Regions from separate parts of the Homo sapiens genome. Here regions 1, 3 and 4 are each linked to region 2. The links are contacts of gene promoters, found by promoter capture Hi-C in blood cells and fetal thymus (Javierre and others, 2016). All regions are on one chromosome and are shown on one strand. The core of a region is centred on a gene start or on the middle of the fragment in contact, and the rest is flanking DNA. Distances in the headings are between cores, read along the strand shown.

Region 1 (2,700 bases), core at 142-2,641, 1.1 Mb before region 2:
TGTCGACATGTCAATATTTATTCCCTAAACCCCAACTTTGGTTATTTTCAATTTTGTACTGTTGTAAACAATGTTGTAATGCAGATTCTTGTACATACATCTTCGGGCATTTGCTCAATTATTTCCTTAAGATAATTTCCTAGAACTGGAATTGCTGGGTTGAAGGATATGAAGTTTTATTTTTGTCTGTCTTCAACTTTATTTATTTATTGCTGTATATTGCCATATTGCCCACCAAATATCAATTAATAATTTACATTCTTGGCATCATAGTATAGTTCTCTGAGCAGGGAATACCTAGTCCAACCTGAAGTTCAAGAGCGACTTCTTGGAGGAGGTGACCCTGGGTCTGAGTCATGGTGAGAATTTATCAAGACTTCAAAAGAGCAGATAAATAATCCACAAGGACCCCGGATCAGAGAGTGCTCCGAGCTGGGTTGCCCCACTGTGCTTGTATCTGCACTCTCCAACACTAGGCATCATTGACATGTTAAAGCTTAGCCAAATAGAATTGTTCTTTGTCATTCTTTTTTTAACTTTTACTTATTCATTAGGATGATTTCATAATATATTTCCTGGTTTAGAGGAAACAGGAACAATGGCTACCGAGAGTACTCCCTCAGAGATCATAGAAAGAGAAAGAAAAAAGTTGCTTGAAATCCTTCAACATGATCCTGATTCTATCTTAGACACGTTAACTTCTCGGAGGCTGATTTCTGAGGAAGAGTATGAGACTCTGGAGAATGTTACAGATCTCCTGAAGAAAAGTCGGAAGCTGTTAATTTTGGTACAGAAAAAGGGAGAGGCGACCTGTCAGCATTTTCTCAAGTGTTTATTTAGTACTTTTCCACAGTCAGCTGCCATTTGCGGCTTAAGGCATGGTAAGTTGACTTTGTATACTTTTTGGGGTGAGAGGAAGGGGGCAGACTTTCTGAAAAAGAAAACAAAATGAAAGAAAATTGTTGCCTTTTATTTTTGTTAGTCTTTTTCTGGAGATAATTTTCATTGAAATATGAAATAGGGAAAAACTGGAATTTAAAAAGTTTCTGAAATTTAACATCTTATTGGTCTACTGAATCGATAATTTGTTTTTCAGACTGTACTCAAAACTTGAAGTTGTTTTAGTGCTAACAAACTGCTCATTATTCTGGCAGTAACATGCTAAAATCTCACAGTTGGAAGGAAAATACTTTAATAATAACACAATCCAGGGTTTGTTTTTCAAGTAGATGAATTCGTGGATATTTACAGTGCCAAGACCACAAGCTGTATCTTTCACTTAGTATAGCCGTTTTGAAAATACAAGGAAAATAATTTTTAACACATAGATGGCAAATCAGTAGTTTCATTTTTTTGGTGATAAGAATGCCAGCAGCAGCTGTTTTCTGGAGCAATTCCAGTGCTAATTCTTAAATGGTTCAAAGATAACTAGTAGTCCATGAAAAAGCAATTCTTCCAGTTATTTAGCAATTCTGTAAATTACTACTAGGACTAGGTCTAGCTCTTTTTCTAGGAATCTAAAAAAAAATTCAAAATTATTTTAAGGGATGTTAGAGAGGTAGAGGCTCAGATAAAAAGGTGAATGTTAGTGATACCTAATTTAGGACAAGATTTATATGCTTAGAAATTTTTCTTTTATTATTTCTAAAGCACACTATTCCAAATAGAGCCATTTGCTTACTGATTAGAAATTATTTGTGATCAGATTTCATTAGCAATGACCCCAAGAGACGTGAGTCTGTTGTGAGTCACAGTAAGTCCACAAGTAAACACTGTTCATATGATTCAAATTTTTCGTTTTATTCACTTACCCTGTAAGGTTGCTAGGAAGGACTCAAACTTTAAGCAAGACAGTGGTGTGATCTGATTTTTTTTTTTAGTGGAAAAAAGAAAGTTCTGAAAGTTGACATGTTGACATGCAAGTTATATAGGAGGTGTTAGGTATTCCTGTCCTCCAGTGAAATAAGAGGTGGCTGGGCGCTGTGGCTCACACCTGTAATCCCAGCACTTTGGGAGGCCGGGGCAGATGGATCACCTGAGGTCAGGAGTTTGAGACCAGCCTGACCAACATAGTGAAACACTGTCTCTACTAAAAATACAAAAATTAGCTGGGCATCATGGCGCATGCCTGTAATCCCAGCTACTTGGGAGACTGAGGCAGGGGAATCACCTGAACCCGGGAGGTTGAGGTTGCAGTGAGCCCAGATCGTGCCATTGCACTCCAGCCTCGGCAACAAGAGTGAAACTCTGTCTCAAAAAATAAATAAATAAATAAAAGGAGAGGGATGAAGCTTTGAGGCCTCAGGAACTCTAGCTGTTATACAGCTTCTTTTTCTTAATTGGGAAAAACAATTCTTTTCTTTGCAGAAGTTTTAAAACATGAGAATACAGTACCTCCTCAATCTATGGGGGCAAGCAGTAATTCAGAAGATGCTTTTTCTCCTGGAATAAAACAGCCTGAAGCCCCTGAGATCACAGTGTTCTTCAGTGAGAAGGAACACTTGGATTTGGAAACCTCTGAGTTTTTCAGGGACAAGAAAACTAGTTATAGGGAAACAGCTTTGTCTGCCAGGAAGAATGAGAAGGAATATGACACACCAGAAGTCACATTATCATATTCAGTTGAGAAAGTTGGATGTGAAGTTCCAGCAACTATTACATATATAAAAGATGGACAGAGATATGAGGAGCTAGATGATT
Region 2 (2,700 bases), core at 9-2,508:
TAGATTCTTTTTTTCCTCACCTACAATTCCCACACTATTGAATAATTGTCTACTCCCACAGACCACATCATATCCCCTTGCCATCTTGCTTGTTGACAAGAGTGCATATGTGCCAGGCACTGTATGAGGCACCAAGGACACAAAATACATGATTCCTGTCCTCTATATTTAGGGTGAATTGTCAGAAGAAACTGGTATTACAAAGGTCAGTTAGAGAGTCATTGTGGTCAATCACTTATAAATCACAATACACTTTTTCTCTATTTTTAGTATTTTTCTATTACATATAAAAAACTACCTTCCATGAGAAACAATAGGATGGAGATTATTCAAGATATAGTGTGTCAAACTGAGAAATGAATACACAGAGTTAACGATTTGTTTGACCAGAGGCAAGAAAGCATTCACAGAATGCAAAGTGAAGTTAGACTTGCTGACTGAGTGCTTTGAAACTCCCGATTGAGAGGATGAACCTCATGCACAATTAGCGCCTTAAGGGAAGGTCTTGAGATGAAAGAAAAATGAAAATAGTTTTGTGGCCGCAGAATTTACTACCACTGGACGCAAGATGTCTAAAGTACTTTAAATGTGAACTCCAAGGGAGGTCAGAGATAAATTCGACTGCTAAAAATCAGATTTACAAAAGCAATATTCAACCATGTAGACTGGCAACTCCACTAGTGTTTGGAGCTCCCCATCCAGATGTACAACAAACTCTTGGAGACTTGGATGTGTTACACAGGGGGCCGGTCGGGTTTCCATTTAGGACCAGGAGATTATAATCACTTTATTTTAGCAACCTCCTTACTACAAGGCCAAAACTGACAGTCCTCTCTCCAGACCCTCGCGTCCGCCCTCCAGACTGTGCTTCCCGCGCCGGACAGGGAAGTGGGAGTGCGGACGACAATCCGCATCCTGCCAGCCAGACGTCACCAAGCTGTCTTCCAAGAGGCAGGCGGAGAGAGCTGACTTCCGATTGGGTCAGCCGAGGGGCACGGCTGGCTCCCTATTGGCTTACAGGAGGGGGCTAGAGAGAGGCGTGTCTCAACGTCACACCCGCCCCTAGTCTCCTTGCTGCTCAGGATTATGGGAGGGAAGGGAAGTCCAGGAGGGAAAAATGACCCGGAAAGACCTTTGCCGGCCTGGGCCAGCCCTCTTCCGGAGCTGATGTCTCCTCCCACCAACCAGGAGAGGTCCGCCCTAGGCCCCGCCCGTGCCGGGGGATCAGGTGATTGCGGGCCAACACGGTCACGTGACCGGGGCGCACCCGCCGATTGTGGCCATGGCGGCCGCAGTCTCTAGTGTGGTGAGACGAGTGGAAGAGCTCGGGGATCTGGCTCAGGCCCACATACAGCAACTTAGCGAAGCTGCCGGTGAAGATGGTGAGGGAGCGGAGGAGAGGGAGGCGGGCGGGGCAGACGGCGCTAAGGTACTGGCGCTCGATGGCTGTGAGGGCTAGAGGCTGAGGCCTGTGTTCCTTTGGGTCCCAGGCCGCAGGTGGTTACCCGAGGTCTGTCGCTTCTGAGCCCCTCTGCGCCATCGATTGCCCACTTCCCAGAACTCACAATGCCAAGGCGTTGTCTTCGAAAACCGCATTATTCAGAACCCATGGAAAATCTGTCTAGATCCGTGCTGGTGTAAACTGTCTCGGTAGCGATTGGAAGAAGGGCAGAATCTAAATAAAATACAGAAGTTTAAATAAATGGCTAAGATGAATGATAACACTCAAATTAGTTATGGTGGTTTGCATCCTGTAAAGATAAAAAGACATGTATAACAGTTCCACTTTTTCATTGCTGCGTTGTAATTTGCGTTTTACGTTTTGGATTCAAAACAACATTCTATAGAAGAGCTTTACATTGGTGTGTAGACTATTCTGCCCCATACATCATGCCAGTTCTCACAAGGGCTCTGTTAAGTATTGGCATACTTGTTTTGGAAAGGTCTAAGCTGTTAGGAAAAACTGGGCTAGGGAATTGCCTCAACCTTCTGAATTTAAGTCCAATTCTTTTCATTACGTCTCAGCTGCCTTTAGGTTCTACATTATTCCTTTTTGAGTTTGAGCAATTACTACAGATAGTTTTTAAAATTCTGTGGACTGACTCATATCATCGGACTCATAGGAAAACAGTGGTGGAACATTTTCTTAAGCGATTGAATAGTTGGTGAATTTGTTATTAAATAGGGTCTATGATGAAATGCCTTAGTTTCAGTGAATATTTTTTGCCAGATTATCATTTATCAGGAGTGTTTTGTTTTGTTTTGTTTTTAGAGGCAGAGTATCATTCTGTTGCTCAGGCTGGAGCCCCTCTAGTAGTGGGACAACAGGCGCACACCATCTCGCCCGGCTAACTTTGGCATATTTTGTAGAAACGGGGTTCACCATGTCATCCAGGTTGGTCCTGAACTCCTGGGCTCAAGCATTCCACCCGCTTTGGCTTCCCAAAGTGCTGGGATTACAGGCGTGAGCCACTGTGCCAGGCCAGGAGTGTGTTCTTTAAAGACCTACAGACCACCCTGAAGCCGACTTATATTTTGGTCTGTGGATTCACATGAATAATTCTTGGGTAGTAGGAGCTATTAACTTGAAAGTTATCTATGTTACCTCTAATTCCAGATTCACTTGAACCAGTCCAAAGAGACCAAAGAATGTTTTTTATTCACTTATCACTGAACTAAAAAGCCATTCTCATTTCCCTT
Region 3 (2,700 bases), core at 131-2,630, 1.1 Mb after region 2:
CTCTGCCTCCCGGGTTCAAGCTATTCTGAGGCCTCATATCTGGGAACCTGCCCCAATAGTCACATAGGTTCTTTTCTATTTTCCCTAAGCATCGGCCGGTTTGAGAAATAAAGGGACAGAGTACAAAAGAGAGAAATTCTAAAGCTGGGTGTCTAGGGGAGACCTCACATGTCAGTAGGTTCTGTGATGCCCCACAAGCTGTAAAACCAGCAAGTTTTTATTAGGGACTTTCGAAAGGGGAGGGAGTGTACGAATAGGGTGTGGGTCACAAAGATCACATACTTCACAAGGTAATAGAATATCACAAGGCAAATGGAGGCAGGGCGAGATCACAGGACCACAGGACCGGGGTGAAATTCAAATTGCTAATGAAGTTTTGGGCACCATTGTCATTGATAACATCTTATCAGGAGACAGGGTTTTGAGAGCAACTGGTCTGACCAAAATTTATTAGGCGGGAATTTCCCCTTCCTGATAAGCCTGGGAGCACTATGGGAGACTGGGGTTTATTTCATCCCTACAGTCTCGACCATAGAAGACGGCCACACCCAAGGGGGGCATCTATAGACCCACCCTCAGGTGCGTATTCTCTTTCCCAGGGATGTTCCTTGCTGAGAAAAAGAATTCAGCAATATTTCTTCCATTTGCTTTTGAAAGAAGAGAAATATGGCTCTGTTCCGCCTGGCTTTTTCCCAGCGGTCAGAGTTTAAGGTTATCTCTCTTGTTTCCTAAACATTGCTGTTATACTGTTCTTTTTTCAAGGTGCCCAGATTTCATACTGTTTAAACACACATGCTCTACAATTTGTGGAGTTAATGCAATTATCACAGGGTCCTGAGGCGACATACATTCTCCTCGGCTTACGAGATGACAGGATTAAGAGATTAAAGTAAAGACAGGCATAGGAAATCACAAGGGCATTGATTGGAGAAGAGATAAGTGTCCTTGAAATCTTCACAATTTATGTTTAGAGATTGCAGTAAAGATAGGCATAAGAAATTATAAAAGTATTAATTTGGGGAACTAATAAACGTCCATGAAATCTTCACAATCCACGTTCTTCTGCCATGGCTTCGGCCGGTCCCTCCTTTTGGGGTCCCTGACTTCCCGCTACAGCCTCAGCCTCCCAAGTAGCGGGGATTACAGGCACCAGCCACAATGCTCAGCAATTTTTTTGTATTTTTAGTAGAGAGGGGGTCTCGCCATTTTGTCCAGTCTGGTCTTGAACTCCTGACTTCTATATGATTGTATTTGTTTTTTCACAATGTAGTTCAATACATTGAAATGGTTGGGCAAGTGGCAAAATCATATTCCTCACTCCTCTGGTTTTTTATAAGGTTCAATTTATCATAAATACTTTCCACTTCTTGCCTCATCTTTTACTTCTCCTCACATATTGAGTGGTTCATGGCACAAAAATCATTATTTGTGACAGACACTGTGCCAACTGTATTTTGTGCTTTATCTGATTTCATTCTCAACTGAAAACTGCGGCAAGCACATGCTTTGTACTGGGCTTGCTTCTCATTTCCATTTTGTAGATACACACCCTCACTTAGGGAAGTATGAGTTTGTACAGCTCTGCCTGTGGCTGAATAGATAAATGTAATTTTACCATTCAGTGTTAAATCAACTTTTAGTGTAAATTTAAGGCCCATCTTCTAACATAGGGGTACGTGTGATTTTACTGTGTCCCTTCTCCCTAACACTCCAGTTCAAGATAGCAACCTAAATTCTGAGTTGATTATTCTGGACACACTCCCTCAAAATGCGACTGTAAGACACCAGAATACACCACCCCAGTATGCCAATATATCAATATACCTCTGGCGTATTGATTATTTCAGGCCAGGCATGGTGGCTCACACCTGTAATCCTAGTGCTTTGAGAGGCCAGGAGTTCATGAGCAGCCTGGGCATGTAGGGAGACCCATCTCTATAAAAATATTTTTAAAAGATTAGCTGGGCATGGTGGCATGTGCCTGTAGTCTTAGCTGCTGGGGAGGCTAAGGCAGGAGGATGGCTTGAGCCCAGGAGTTTGAAGTTGCAGTGAACTCTGATTGCACCACTGCATTCTAGCCTGGGTGACAGAGTAAGACGCTATCTCTTAAAAAACAAAACAAAACACTCACGCCTGTAATCCCAGCACATTGAGAGGCCAAGGTGGGCAGATCACTTGAGGTCAGGAGTTTGAGACCAGCCTGGCCAACATGGTGAAACCCCGTTTCTACTAAAAATACCAAAATGAGCCAGGCGTGGTGGCACGCAGCTGTAATCTCAGCTACTTGAGAGGCTGAGGTGGGAGAATTGTTTAAACCCAGGAGGCAGAGGTTGCAGTGAGCCAAGATCGCACCAAACCACTCCAGGCTGGGCAACAGAGCAAGACTCCATCTCAAACAAAACAAAACGAGATGAGAGAAAAACCTCAACCTGTACACCTCTTTATGACAGAACAACACAGAAAGAGAAAGACAAAGAAAAGACTACTCTAGGAGGAAATGGATGAAACAATATGATTCTTACCACAAAGTACCAGAAAGTACACCATAGTCAATACACCAGCACTGGTCACACAAATCCTTTTCTCCCATCAGTCAAAATTTTGGACAGGAAAAATGAACAGAGTGATATTTACTGTCTACTTGACCAAATTCCACAGAGAGGGGCCTGGAATCTGACTGGTAAGAAATTCTTATCCTTA
Region 4 (2,700 bases), core at 178-2,677, 1.0 Mb after region 2:
AAACCAGCTAGAAGGAAAATGGCATAAAAGCTACCTCTGGTTACCTTCATTGCTCGTTATATGCTAATTATTATGCATTGGCATGCTAAAAGACTACCACCAGAGCAATGACTGTTTATAAGTGCCATGGCAATCCCCAAGAGTTACTCTGTATCTTCTGTAAGGTAGATAAACCCCCGGTCCACAAGCTCCTGCCTCTTTCCCAGATAACTAAAGAAATAGTCGACCCCTCATTTAGCATATAATCAAGAAATAGCCATAAAATAGCCAGCTAGCTGCCCTGTCCCTTGGTGCTACCCTGACTACGGGGGTAGCCTTCTTTTTGTTTCCTTAATACACTTGCTTTCACATTACTCTTTTGGCTTGCTCTTGAATTCTTTCTGGTACAAGCAAAGTATCCACTTGGCTTCCCTGGCTGAATGCCAATTCTGGGGGTATCCTTGCATCAACAGCACCACTGCCTTCAACCAATGCCCTGGAAGGAGCTCCTCACACCCCAGTGGGGACCCTCATGATGTTATTGTAAACTTGCTTGGGACTCTGCCTTCTAGATAGAGGCAACAGGAGCAAGAAGTTTCTATGTTGGAGATCATTCCTTGTTTAGTTCTTCCTCTCCAAAGTACTAGGAGCAAGAAGTCTATGATGGAGATCATTCCTTATTTAGTTCTTCTTCTCCAAAGTACCTCAAAGATTTCCAAATTATAAAAACTATCTTTGTGTAATCAAGAATATGCTAAGGAACTTTACTTCTAGATAGACTCAGAATTCATGGTAGATGGTAAATTTTGTTATATGTATTTTACCACAATAAAAATAAATAGAAAATAAAAGACAAGAAGGAAATGAAAGAATTGAGTGACTACCACTGCCCTGCTTCTCACTAACATCCCAAGTTGTCTTTGAGGACACACCTCTCCTCAAGCTTTTCTCTGCCTGGAGAACAAGATTGCAGTCTCTGCTCCAGGACTAGCAATGTGGTTTGGGGCAATAATAAACTATTAACCAGGGTTCCTCAAAAGAGCTTTCCCTCCACAGGTTAAGGAGTACCTTTTCTTTTTATCACTTAAACCACCCTATCACAGATTGAGTTTCGTCTAAGATGTTAGGGTTTTATGTTAATACCAGTAATTCCATCTTCTGTTACAATTTGCTTCTAGAATTAATATCACCACTATGCTTCCTATGATCTGATTAGGACCAGGCACTTGGCCAGAAAAGTGTAAAAACTCAAAAGCTGATGTCTCCTGCTGTGAGACTGGATGAAACACCTTTTCCCTTGTGTTCAGGAGCCCTTGGATTACACAATTCCATATTGCTTTCAGATTGGCCAGCCCAGAGGAAATCTTAGCAGATAATCTAACCTGGGTGTTGCACACAGAGGCCACCCTGAGGGAGCCAAAGCCAGGGCTGCATTCATAGTCCCTTTATCCCCTAGACCTTCAAAAGGTTTCAAATTGAAATCACGATCATGTCATCTAAGATAACAATTAATTTCTCTTTACAATTAATTGCCATTCAGGGATGTTGTGGTTTGAATATTTGTCCCTTCTGAAACTCATGTTGAAACTTAATCCCCAATGTAGCAATATTGAGAGGTAGGGCCTTTAAGCAGTGATTGGGTCTTGAGGGCTCTGCCCGTTTGATGTCTTAATCCATTTATGGATTAACGGTTAATTGGTTAATGGAATAATGGGTTATCAGAGGATTGGGATTGTGGTTTTATTTTTTTTTAAGTAGATTTTGAGACTTCAGAACAGAAAATGAGGATGATAAGATGGGAAGCCCCCTCCATATCCAAACCACAAAAACACTCTAACTCATCTTTCACCATCTGCTTATTTTTTATGACATGGATAATTGACATGTAATTAGTCTAATAATGAGTGCAAAGCAAACACAGCTCTAGTTCCACGTTCCAATAAGATGCAACATCTAAGCTTCTCTATACTGATACTTAGAACTGCCACTATGTGAAAAGATTGATGTAATCACAGCTAGACTAGATTAATGCTGTCATCTAGTTTATGGGTTTTGATTTCTAACATTTGAGGGGACAGAAAAGTGTAAAAGTCCCAAGTGTATTCTCTACTGCATGTTTTTCATCTCTGCCCAAGGATTTTGGTGTAAAGGCTGGAAACCTTTACACCAAATCTTTACACTAAAGTTGTGAAGACACATAAATCTTTCTCCTGGGATGCCCACAAGAAGGAATGAGTCTTAGTTGCTGCAGGACCTGAGATGGGCAGAGATTATGAGAGCCTCCCATACACTTGGTGTTCTGCACTGAATTGTGTTCCCCCAAAATTCATGATAATTTTGATTAACTAATCTCCAAGTGATGGTATTTGGAGATGGGGCCTTTGGGAGACAATTAAGTTTAGATGAGGTCATGAGGGTTGGGGTTTCATAATGGGATTAGTGCCCTTATGAGAAGAGGAAGAGATACCAGGTCCCTCTCCTTCTCTCCCTTTCTTCTCTTGCCCCTCTACCCACTTCTCTCTCTCCTTCTGTGCCATGTGAGAACACAGCTACAACATGGCCATTGGCATGACAGGAAGACAGCCCTCACCAGGAGCTGAATCACTGGCGCTTTCATCTTGGACTTCCAGATCCTGGGCAAGACTCACCAAGGCAGACATCTGTAGCTGCCTGGAATTGTCTGATCTGGAGTTGATGCTCTGGAACCCTGTGGTTGTTAAC

The links. The method cuts DNA at HindIII sites, captures the fragments that hold promoters and counts their contacts. A CHiCAGO score of 5 or more calls a contact.
Region 1: a contact is called between a fragment that was not itself captured here and the fragment with the promoter of RIMOC1 in region 2, in 1 of 17 cell types (erythroblasts). The highest score is 6.2, in erythroblasts.
Region 3: a contact is called between a fragment that was not itself captured here and the fragment with the promoter of RIMOC1 in region 2, in 2 of 17 cell types (erythroblasts and neutrophils). The highest score is 6.1, in erythroblasts.
Region 4: a fragment that was not itself captured here is called in contact with the fragment with the promoter of RIMOC1 in region 2 in 9 of 17 cell types (neutrophils, M2 macrophages, M0 macrophages and 6 more); the score reaches 10.4 in neutrophils.

The regions. Positions count from the first base shown.
Region 1 is chr5:40,840,785-40,843,484 of GRCh38, forward strand. CARD6 (caspase recruitment domain family member 6) reads left to right here and starts at 583. Exons shown (of 3, transcript NM_032587.4): 1 at 583-881; 2 at 2,368-2,700. The coding sequence starts at 599. The HindIII fragment of the contact is 1,795 bases long and covers 495-2,289 here.
Region 2 is chr5:41,903,086-41,905,785 of GRCh38, forward strand. RIMOC1 (RAB7A interacting MON1-CCZ1 complex subunit 1) reads left to right here and starts at 1,259. Exons shown (of 6, transcript NM_175921.6): 1 at 1,259-1,382. The coding sequence starts at 1,283. RefSeq lists enhancers at 692-831, 943-1,489, 1,242-1,361. The HindIII fragment of the contact is 10,560 bases long and covers 1-2,700 here.
Region 3 is chr5:42,955,232-42,957,931 of GRCh38, forward strand. LOC105374745 (a long non-coding RNA gene) reads left to right here. Exons shown (of 3, transcript XR_925964.3): 1 at 1-2,700. Among named protein-coding and RNA genes, the nearest start is that of FLJ32255, 37 kb to the right of the region's middle. The HindIII fragment of the contact is 5,385 bases long and covers 1-2,700 here.
Region 4 is chr5:42,904,699-42,907,398 of GRCh38, forward strand. No RefSeq gene overlaps it. Among named protein-coding and RNA genes, the nearest start is that of FLJ32255, 87 kb to the right of the region's middle. The HindIII fragment of the contact is 1,015 bases long and covers 921-1,935 here.